3 separate regions of the Homo sapiens genome follow, and all the other regions are linked to region 3. Evidence: promoter capture Hi-C in 16 types of primary human blood cells and fetal thymus (Javierre and others, 2016). All regions are on one chromosome and are shown on one strand. Each heading gives the region's core, a stretch centred on a gene start or on the middle of the fragment in contact. The rest is flanking DNA. Distances are from core to core; before and after follow the strand shown. Region 1 overlaps LOC105373760 (a long non-coding RNA gene). Region 2 holds the start of LOC105373760 (a long non-coding RNA gene). Region 3 holds the start of LNPK (lunapark, ER junction formation factor).

Region 1 (3,507 bases), core at 288-2,787, 1.1 Mb before region 3:
AAAGTGGTTATAATGCCAAAGTTAATTTTGTTTTGTCATATACAAAGTAGTTAATCTAAAAATTATTGATTGATATTCTCCCTCTTTTAACTCTTTTAGGACTCGATATTTAAAGCAAAACTAATTTATCTAGGTGTTCTACGGCACAAAATTAATTCTCCTGGGACTGGTCCAGGCCAAGCCTCATTATGGAACGGTTCCTCTTGCTGAACTAGTCTAAGCCTGATTCTTACTGGGATACTTTTTTAGAGTTATTTGCAACAAAGAATTTAACCCTTGAGAAGCTACAGAATTGACTTTCAATATTATACATATTAGGCCATTTGAGGGGATCAGGAAGACATTAAAATCAGAGTGTGTTTTTTCCTTGTGGGTGCTTCCTGGGACTTTGAAGTTAGGCAATTGTATTTGTGTATACTGCAGGGATTTTAGTTTTGTAATCATATACCAGAATTGAAGTGTTCATTTAAGACATTTTTTACCCTTCCCTAATCTGCATCACAACAAGCATATTACTGACCCTGTCTTTTTCATTTATATATAAGTGGTGAATTTACCTCTTTGCCTGGGTGCCCAAATAGTTGTTCAGATCATACAGCAAGTTTCACTGACTTTCTTTGCTTAATGTCTAACTGAATCATTTGGTTACTTGGTGTTTTTGTGCATACATAGACCCCAAGATTGTAACTGTTAAACAGCTACAAAAGTAGTTCAGCATCATTCATCAGTTATATTTCCTTTACTGTGTGTGTGTGTGTGTGTGTGTGTGTGCGTGCGTGTGTGTATAATATCTTTGCAAAATATTATTGGCGAATAGATTTTTTAAATGTCAATTTTTGTGTTGACTTTTTGCCTTTTGTGTAGCAGTTAGTTCATAAAGATTAGGCCATTTTCCACTGGAGAATCTCTTGCATTTTAAGGTTCTTTGCTCATTGTGGGCATCTTACCAAATTTTTTCACTGAAGTAGTTTTCCTCATTCAAAATGCCACATTTTCTATTAGAATGTTACTAATCTGGCTCAATATATTTTCCCTTTGTGGCTGGTAAGGAATATTTATTTGATGCTAGTGAGGCGGCCCAATCTACCAGCCAGGTCTTTCACAGAGAACAAGATGGTGGTCAACTTGAGGATGGGTAAGTGTCTTTGTGATGGAAAGCAATAATTTAGTCTTTAGTAGGCTGCTTGCTCTACATGCTAACAAACCGACACCTTTCCTCACTCCCCTTCTCCCAGACAGATTTCTGTTGGATTAGTAGTAGGTTGACTTGTTCCGTCTCACATAGATATACTTCCAGAAGGTGTCGCGGTGATGCTGTGAGACTTAACTTGTCAACCTAAACTCTTTTTATCTGAAATGCAATAACAATTGCCAAGTTTTCCTAATATAAAAATAGTCTAAATCAATTATCCAGGCTATTGTTAAGCCACACTAAATTATGGGATTAATAAGCAAACATTCAGGTAGTTCAGTGGCATTTGATAAGGAAATTTAATTTACTCACATAAGATTACACTTAGAAAATTATTGGCCAGGCGTGGTGGCTCACTCCTGTAATCCCAGAACTTTGGGAGGCTGAGGCGGGGGATCACCTGAGGTCGGGAGTTGGAGACCAGCTTGACCAATATGGAGAAACCCTGTCTCTACTAAATATACAAAATTAGCCAGGCGTGGTGGTGCATGCCTGTAATCACAGCTACTCGGGAGGCTGAGGTAGGAGAATCGCTTGAACCCAGGAGGCAGAGGTTGCAGTGAGCTGAGATCACGCCATTGCTCTCCCAGCCTGGGCAACAAGAGCGAAACTCCAGCTAAAAAAAAAAAAAAAGAAAATTATCCATATAGGTCCCATTGTTTTCAATAAAGTAAAGGTAGGTTTTTAAAGAAAAACTTTGTAAAAACATACTCTGGCCAGTGAATTTAATTTCTCTGTAAAATAATAGCTTTTTTTTTTTTAAAAAGAGTCTTGCTCTGTCACCTAGACTGGAGTGCAGGGGCAGGATCTTGGCTCACCACAATCTCCTCCTCCCAGGTTCAAGTGATTCTCCTGCCTCAGCCTCCTGAGTAGCTGGGATTACAGGTGCGTGCCACCACATCTGGCTAATTTTCGTATTTTTAGTAGAGACGGGTTTCACCATGACGGTCAGGCTGGTCTCGAACTCCTGATGTCATGATCCACCCTCCTTGACCTCCCAAAGTGCTGGGATTACAGGGCGTGACACCGCGCCCGACCTAAAATAATAGTTTTAAGAGAAACTGCTGCCTTGTGAAATTGAATTCTCAGTCTATAATGTGGCGTATGCTTCTGTTTTAAATTCATTATAAAAGGTATTTAAACTTCATAGATTTCTTCCCCCTGTGTATTTTTGTCAGCCTAGACGCACAAAGAAAGAAGAATGCTCTATACCTTGTGGACATTTAATAAAGATTAATTTTTTTAAACTAACAATTTAAGTATAATCTCCAAATGGAAGCATATCTATGTTAGTTTAAATCCTTTCACAATAAATAACAGAATACAGGAAACTTTTAGGAAGGTTTATGATTTTCCATAAGAAAAATGTGCTTAGAGCTTAGAGGGGAACATTTTACAATTTTTTTAAAAAAATCTACATCTTCCTTCTGCAGATATCAATACAATCAATTGACAGTAAATGAAAAAGCCGAAAAAAAAGAATGCCCCCTCTCCAGTCTTCCTTTTTTTTTTTTTTAATTTCAGTTGGAAAATCCCCACTGAATGAATTTTTTTGAAAAAGTAAATGTATCCTGGGAACATGCCGTTCAGGATTTTGGAAAAGGAACTTCAAACGAAATTGGTAAGGGAGGCAAATGCGTAAGTGGAAACTTTGAGGAAACTGGCAATGAGAGACTGGAAATCAGGCAGTCATTTACGTTTTACTTCACCACCCTTTGCTTATGTGAGTACAAAGCAGGGAGCTGGCAAGGCTGTGAGTCAGAACTCTCCTCTCAGGAACTGAGCAGAGAGATTCCCAGCATCTGTTTCCTCAACTATCACCCAGAGGATACTGGTGGTAAATCACAGGGAATAAAAATAGCCTCAGAAGTCTAGTTCCAGACAAATAAGGCATGCTGGATATTCGATAGTGGTTTGGGGTCTCAAAATTCTTCATTAGCTAAATAACAAATATATTATTTTTTACATTAATGAGCATATTCCTTACATTGTTCACCTAAATGTTGAGCACAACCTTGGCATTTCTACTGACGTGAGTTGAAGTATTACCTAAATTACATTATGTTTGATGTTACAGTCTGAACCATTTAGTGTATAAAGGTGGGTCTACAATCAATAATCACAAATGTTAAAGCTTTATTTTAGATACAATAAAACATTTATTTCTAAGATGTTAAAAAAAAACCCATAAGCTTCTTACCATAATGTCAATTGCCAATAGATTGATAAGATCTTTCTGCATTTTGACTGCAGGAAATTTTATGGCTAGAATCTTACAATTTACACAACTTACAGTCTTTTTAGGTTATATTTCA
Region 2 (3,698 bases), core at 454-2,953, 1.2 Mb before region 3:
TTTCCCTTGCAACTATAGGTGCAGCCATGGGACCAAGTTCTGGCCAAAGGTTTCCAAGTGGAAGAGAGCTTCTGGGAGCCTTCCTTGACGTGCAGCACACCCTTTGCCTCTCCATGCCTTCCTGCTTCCTGCTGCTTAAAGCTTGAGTGCTGTAACCATGAAGCATGAGCATGCCAAGCACAGCTGAACAGCAAGACAGAGGACCTTGGGTCCCTCAAACCATGAATCACTGTATCAGTCCTAGCCCCACCACTCAGACTTTTGTGTGAGAAAGAAATTTAACCCGTGACTCAAAACAACAAGTTTATTCTATTTTTTTTTTTGAGATGGAGTCTCACTCTGCTGCCCAGGCTGGAGTGCAGTAGTGTGATCTCAGCTCACTGCAACCTCCTCCAAGTGATTCTCCTGCCTCAGCCTCCTGAGTAGCTGGGATTACAGGCACGCGCCACCACACCTGGCTAATTTTTGTATATTTAGTAGAGATGGGGTTTCATCATGTTGGTTAGGCCGGTCTCGAACTCCTGACCTTGTGATCTGCCTGCCTTGGACTCCCAAAGTGCTGGGATTACAGGCGTGAGCCACCATGCCCAGCGCAAGTTTATTCTTGATCACACCACATGTCCATTGCTGGTCAGCAGGGGGACTCTGCTCATTGTGGGTACTCAGAAAGCCAGGCTGACAGTGTCCATGTCAACCAATGCTTCCACCATTGCTGACAAAGACAAAAGGAATGTAGTGAATTGTATACTGATAAGGCTTGGAACTGAAAATAACACATGCCATTTTGCTGACTAATGCAAGTCACATACCATATCTAACTTCAAAAAGGTAGGCAAGTAGTCTATTTGCCCTAAAAGCAGGAGAACCAGAATGTGTGGATAATCCCAATAATGACTATAATTTCTATCTTACCTAAGCCACTGTTATTTTGGGTTTTCAGCCAATTGCATCTGCACTGAATCCTAATTAAGAGAGGAATGATCACATCAATGCTGTGATAACTATGTCCTGTGAGGAAGGCTGTCACTGGGTGTACACCTTATACTCGGAAGGATTTGCAGGGGTCACTCCCTGTGGCTTTTCTGAGAAAGAAGAAGCCACATCTTTCTTAAGATCCTCAGTCATCCTTCAGTCATTGACATCTACTACACTGCAGGCAAATCACTAAGAATTCCTATTCCTAAAGTTCAGGCTACCACCTCTAGCTCCTTCTAAGTCTACGAAATATTCCCTATTCTTTTGAAAACACAACTCTAGTCTTTTTCTATTCTGCTTTGTTCCGGCATTCAAATCTTAGTCCTTGAGATCTGTCATCTTTCCCAGAGGCTCTAAATATGTCCTTACCTCCTTCAATTTGGCAAATATCTTCACTCGACCCTATGACATTTTCCAAATCTATAGACAAATGAGTCGTTCTATACCTATTGTCTTTTTGTTTTCCTTTTCTGAAACCCCTGTGATGAGGCTTCTGTTTGTACCATTCTACTTAAACTGTCTAAAAAGCCATTAATGGCTTTTATCAAGAAGCGTTTGTCTAAAACTCTGGAATTTCCTGGAAACATGCTTTCGTATATTTCATATAGTGGGATGGATAACAGCAGATAAAAACAGTCATAGGTTTAGTAAAACATAGTAGAGCCCTTTCTGCATTTGGGTAGTATGGGAATGCCTTCTGATCTGCTACAGGTAAAATCATATGTCTGTCTGCTCCTGCCCTAAAACACAGGAGCCATCTGCAGTACAAGGCTGACATATTTATTTATTTTGCAACACACACATTCGATCTTTTTTTTTTTTTTTTTTTTTTTTGAGACGGAGTCTCGCTCTGTGGCCCAGGCTGGAGTGCAGTGGCGCCATCTCGGCTCACTGCAAGCTCCGCCTCCCGGGTTCACGCCGTTCTCCTGCCTCAGCCTCCGGAGTAGCTGGGACTACAGGCGCCCGCCACCACGCCGGGCTAATTTTTTTGTATTTTTAGTAGAGACGGGGTTTCACTGTGTTAGCCAGGATGGTCTCGATCTCCTGACCTCGTGATCCGCCCGCCTGTGCCTCCCAAAGTGCTGGGATTACAGGCATGAGCCACTGCGCCCGGCCACATTCGATCTTTAATCCAGTGTTTTAGTGGGTGTAGGTGTGACTTAGAAGCAGGCACAGTTCATTAAAAAACAAAAAACACCAAAACCTTTTACAGGTTATTCTCACAGATAAAAATTCTATAGGCTACCAACAGAGGAAGTCTTTATTGTTCCTGGGCGCTAGACCATACACAGAAGGACCATACTTGCTCTTTGCAGTCTCATTCAGAAGCAGGAAAAAGGGGCTGTATTGGATTTGAATATGAAGGACAAAAGAAGCTCTGGAAACACCAAGTAATAGTCTATGTTACAGGTTTAACACACCCATTTAATCTCATTGGAAAAAATAATGAAACTGGTGAAAAGCATTTATGGAACTGGAGGAGAGCATATTTTGCTGGTTTTACTTTTATGTTTGAAGTTTTGGGTATAGCTATGCCCATAAATACTGAAATGCCTAGCATAAAGAACGCAGCCTGGGGCATACCCCATAAAACGTACAGTGCAATTAAATGAGCAATTTCCACTGGAAATAAAACGGGCATGTTGAGTGGAATATGAATTAAACTGCATATGACTCAGGCCTGCACTAGGCTTTAGAGAGAGATCTGCTGGTTTCAGTAGCACCTGATGCCGTCCATCTAAAGGTCAAGGCCAGTAAGTAACAAAAGAAAACTGTAGTTAGCATGAAGATTAGGGCATACCAAATTGTGGTTAATGTAGTTTCCCTGTCATGATGTCTCCTGAAAGGGACCAGCAAAATTACGACTGATAACAAAGGATTAAACCTGACCTTTCTTTACAATGCAGACACATTGAGCTTCTGCGTCATTTGCTATGCAGCATTTTTGACTTCCTCAAACTTCATTTTCACTTTCTGAATGTTCTCTCCCAGACCAAAGTCACCCAGGTGCCATAATAAAAGAATTTCTAAGGGAGATTTCAACTAGAAAACCAAAAGGCCATCAAAACAAACATTGATTTGCATTCCAGATCACTTTCTGCTCTTGTTCATTTCTGGGATCTTATTTGGAGATTAAAGGGTAATGATTCACTGATATCCTGTGGGAAAACCAGTTCAGGAGCAGCCTTTGACAAACCACATGTAGAAATCTGGCTGATACAGGGAGAAAACAAGTTTCAATCTTATTTTTAGTGTAGGGTAAAGGAAGTCCACCCAAGATAAAGCTTAGCATTCTTTCTTTGAGGAATTAGGGTAAGGGTGAAGAAAAGAAAGCTTGATATTTTTCTGCCTATGAAAGCCAGAAGAAGGCTCAGAGAAGCCCGTTCCTTCTTTTCCTCTTTTTCCAAGTGCCAGACCTCCGCAGCTCCCAGAGGAAATGAGGGCATGGGGTGGGTAATAGGGCATGTGATTTGAATGAGTATTCCCAGCCATTTAATATATTCACAAGTCAAACTATAAAGTATTTCTTTAAAAAAATTATAGTATTTCACTGAAGTTTGAATGTACTTTCTCTTGCCAAAATAATCAGAGTCTTTCATTTTTCTAATGATAAAAATGTGCTACATGTGTAGGAAAATTTCCCAAATGAAAAATAACATTTTCTATGGCAGCACATACAGTGCTTGAATTTTTCACCTTAGATTTTATTCTAGCCAGACCTA
Region 3 (3,579 bases), core at 247-2,746:
TGGAGTACAGACACTGATGGCTCAATTGAAACCAGAGGACACATTACTGGCAAGTGGAAAGCCGTTCTTCCCAGTCTTCTTAGGAAAGGAGATCTTTCTGCGGTGAGATATATTTGCAAAACTGCACAGGACTTTAATACTTTGCAACAGCAAAGGTTGAAAAACAAAACGGTTAAATTTCCACATCAAAACAGGTGAAATGTTTCTGTTCATTTTCTTCTACATTTGGAAAGTGCCTGATCCACAGTGACACGCTAAACTTCAGTTCCCTTCCCCTCATCCTTGCAAGTGTACAGAACTGTAACTAAATATTTAGGCAATTAGGGCAAGCAAATTGCACAGTGAATTATGCGGTAGCTTCTAGTATAATAAATTTTCTTACCAACCAAACAATGCTCAGTTGCTTCTCTTGACAACCTGTTTGCATCGTCAAAGTTTAAATGTAACATATTAAAACTATTACTCTTTAAAAAATCATTGAAACTTTTTTGTGTATAAATAAAAAAATAGAATAAAAATAAATAAAAAATAGAAAAAAACCCATGAAAAATGTTTGCACATGGGGTAAAGCATGTAAAAGGGGTAAAGCATGATAAAAACCTTCGCTGAAGTTTCCCTGCTCACACATTACTGTGTGCACGTCTAGTCTTTTTCTCATTCAGGCATCATTTGTTATTTGTCTTTTCCAGTTGAGGAGGACACTTAATACCGTTTCGGCAGCGTTTCAAATCCGAGTCAAATATAGCCTGAGTGGTTTTTTTGTGGGTCCACCTATCAGGGCCTGTGAAGAGTGTTCTTGGGGTTAAGAGTTCTAAGATAGAAAACTCAGCTTATGCTGTTACCCGCAGGTTTTAAAGCAACATGATACGGCGTTTGAAGCTTACCTCACACCGGTGAGGTAAGCGTCCAGTCATCAAATGACCCTTTTTGACGTCCAAGAGTGACAGAGCCTCAAGCACTCCTGGGGACCGGGCTGACTTTTCTCCACTGGCTTGGTTGGGAACTGGCTTCTTCGGAGCTGTGTAGTCTTAATTTGCTTTGCTGCTGGCTGGCTGACAGCTGATGGGGGACTCCTCAGGACGGACTCCCTTCCAGATGCACCCATCTCCATCCTTCTCAACTCCCCAACCTTTGTCCTCCCCACTCTTCGCTCGCGCGGCGGTCTGAGACCACCAGGACCAGTTTCAGGGGTTTCCTTCTCCAGCGAGACTTGGCAGAACAGGCTTTAAAAGCAAAGGAGGCAGCGGAAGAGTAAGAAATAACTATATTCTAAGAGTCATAATAAATGGCAGTACATAACTGCGACACGACACCGAGCAGCCTAAGCTGGCTGCGGAGGCCACAAACACAAGATCCTAACCTCCCGGCCGACCCGCCCCAACAACTACCCGCCCAGGGTACGGTCACGTGACGGGGGAGCGGCGCGCGCCGACCGCGGCGCCAATTGGCGAGCGGCTGGAGCGCGGGGTTTCATGGGAAGGAGTTGGCCCGGCTTGTCTCTCTGTCAGTGGCGGCTGCTGCCTGCTCTGGAGGCAGGCTGGGCGGTGGCGGCCGAGACTGGCGGGGGTGGACGCCCGGGCCGGGCTGCGCCCGCTTCTTGCAGGTAGAACGCTCAAGGCGAGGGCAGTTGGGAGGGCTCTGCAGCGGGGAGGCATGCTGAGCTGTGCCCCTGGGAAATAAGCTGCGGGTTCCCCGCTTGCCTCTCCTTGGTGCCCCCGCCTCCTGCCAAGTGGCCTAGAGCTCTGCGGCGGCTGCTAGTCAGGCTGCGCGGTGGTCCGCGCAGACCCAGGCTCGCCGCCTTGTTCCCTGGATTTCCCAGCACACTGGCAGTGGTGGCGCTGGAGTCTTGAAACCCTTGTTTCCCCTCTAGGGCTGGTAGTTTCTCCAGCTCGGTTCTAGGAGATTCCGGGTGGTGACTGGCTTGAGCCCCAGCTCTTTGGCCCACTTGTGTCGAGCTTATCTCGACACAGGTGGGGCAAAGAGGTCAGAAGGTCCCAAACTAGCATTTCCTACGCTCAGCTGTCCGCTTTGAGCGTTCTCTCCGCTTCTCTTTCTGAGTTGTGCGGAGGCTCCAAGAGTTAGAAAGACCAGAAGGGACTGAAAACTGTCAGTGTCATGCTGCCGGGCTCTAGCGTGTGGGCGTGGAGTACGTGCTACTTAGAGAAGAGACTCTCCAACCATTGTCCTTATTTCAGGGATGGTGGGCTGTGGGGTGGAGGGGAAGGGCGAAGGTGCATTGTATCAGAGGCGTGGTAGGAGGAGAAAAACAAATCTAAATTCCGTCAGTTCATAGTTTACGGATTGAGAAAGAGTTGAAATTGGTCAACTCAGCTTTGCTGATGGTGCTTTCACAGTACTAAGCAAGACCCGTGAATCACTGAGTTTTCCGTGTTCTGCTTTTCCCAGTTGGCCTCCGGTGTGTGTTGCTCGGTGTCTACTGTTTCCTCCTTTCTTTATGGCCTGGGTGTCAGCATTGACAAAATTGACTCTATTCAACAGCGGTTTGGTGGGTGTGAGTAAGCTTGGTTTCAGGAATATGTTCAAACTGGCAGGGAATGCTCATTTCTTTTCCTCAGCAGCCCCCAGAAGACCAAGTTGACTTTTAACACATTTTCTTAAACAGGAGTGGTGCGTTTAAATTAGAATTTTAAGGTTGTCTGTTATCTATTGAGATCAGCTCAGTAATGATGTTAGTAAACTTATATAGTGTTTATATGTTATATAAACAAGAAAATACAAGAAAAGGAGAAGTTATATGGCTATTAAAAATATATGACTTCACATAGAAACATTTATAATCAAATAGTAATTTTTTGGTGGTATTTAGTTCAGATGAAAATTGACTTACCATGAAAGCAAGCACTAATCATTATATATTAAGAGTGCTTAATATATAATAGAGGTGTACTTTTCATTAAAATTCTTTTTGAGGAGCAATAAATGTGGCTTGGGCTATTTCAGAATTGTCTTTTCAGTTAGGACATTTGAAAGTTAGAATTCTAGAATAAATCACCTTTACTCTTCAATTGTATAGTATAATATGTTATGGAGGTACTGTTGATGGTGATTAAATAGCTTATACTTAACTTTGGAATTTGATAAACATAGAACTTCCTTTGCTGTTTCCTTCAAAGACCTACAAGGTTATTTAATGGCAGAGTCTACAGAATTTTTTGCTCTATTTCTTATACTAGAGAAAATGAGAGCAATCTATTTTTGTAAAAATACAAACTAATATAATTTTCCAATTTTAGAATTATGAAATAGGTGCTTTCTTTATAAGAAGTTAGAAATGTGTTTCATATAAATACATGTGTTTTCTGGTAATAATAATGGCTACAATTAAGCAGTTACTACTATGTGTCGGACACTGTGCCAAATGATACATAATTTCATTTAATTTATACAACAATTCTATGAAGTGTAGATATTTTTACCATTTTGCAAATGCAATAACTGAGGCGTGCAGAGTTTAAGTAATCTGCTCAAGATTGCATAGCTAGTATGTGGTTGAGCCATATTTTGAATCCAGATCTATTTTATTGCATTATTTTAATGTGTCTTGGAGTGAGGTGAAAA

Evidence for each region. Contacts are between HindIII fragments. The CHiCAGO score rates a contact against its expected background, and 5 or more counts as called.
Region 1: a contact is called between a fragment that was not itself captured here and the fragment with the promoter of LNPK in region 3, in 7 of 17 cell types (total CD8 T cells, total CD4 T cells, fetal thymus and 4 more). The highest score is 9.6, in total CD8 T cells.
Region 2: a fragment that was not itself captured here is called in contact with the fragment with the promoter of LNPK in region 3 in 5 of 17 cell types (total CD8 T cells, non-activated CD4 T cells, naive CD8 T cells and 2 more); the score reaches 7.7 in total CD8 T cells.

Annotation. Positions count from the first base shown.
Region 1 is chr2:177,143,046-177,146,552 of GRCh38, reverse strand. The region is part of intron 1 of LOC105373760 (a long non-coding RNA gene); the gene reads left to right. Among named protein-coding and RNA genes, the nearest start is that of MIR4444-1, 68 kb to the left of the region's middle. The HindIII fragment of the contact is 3,583 bases long and covers 1-3,328 here.
Region 2 is chr2:177,165,507-177,169,204 of GRCh38, reverse strand. It overlaps LOC105373760 (a long non-coding RNA gene), which reads left to right and starts at 3,695. Exons shown (of 6, transcript XR_001739795.1): 1 at 3,695-3,698. RefSeq lists enhancers at 590-884, 1,886-2,404. The HindIII fragment of the contact is 3,119 bases long and covers 144-3,262 here.
Region 3 is chr2:176,000,184-176,003,762 of GRCh38, reverse strand. LNPK (lunapark, ER junction formation factor) reads left to right here and starts at 1,496. Exons shown (of 13, transcript NM_030650.3): 1 at 1,496-1,603. RefSeq lists an enhancer at 1,083-1,302. The HindIII fragment of the contact is 1,642 bases long and covers 882-2,523 here.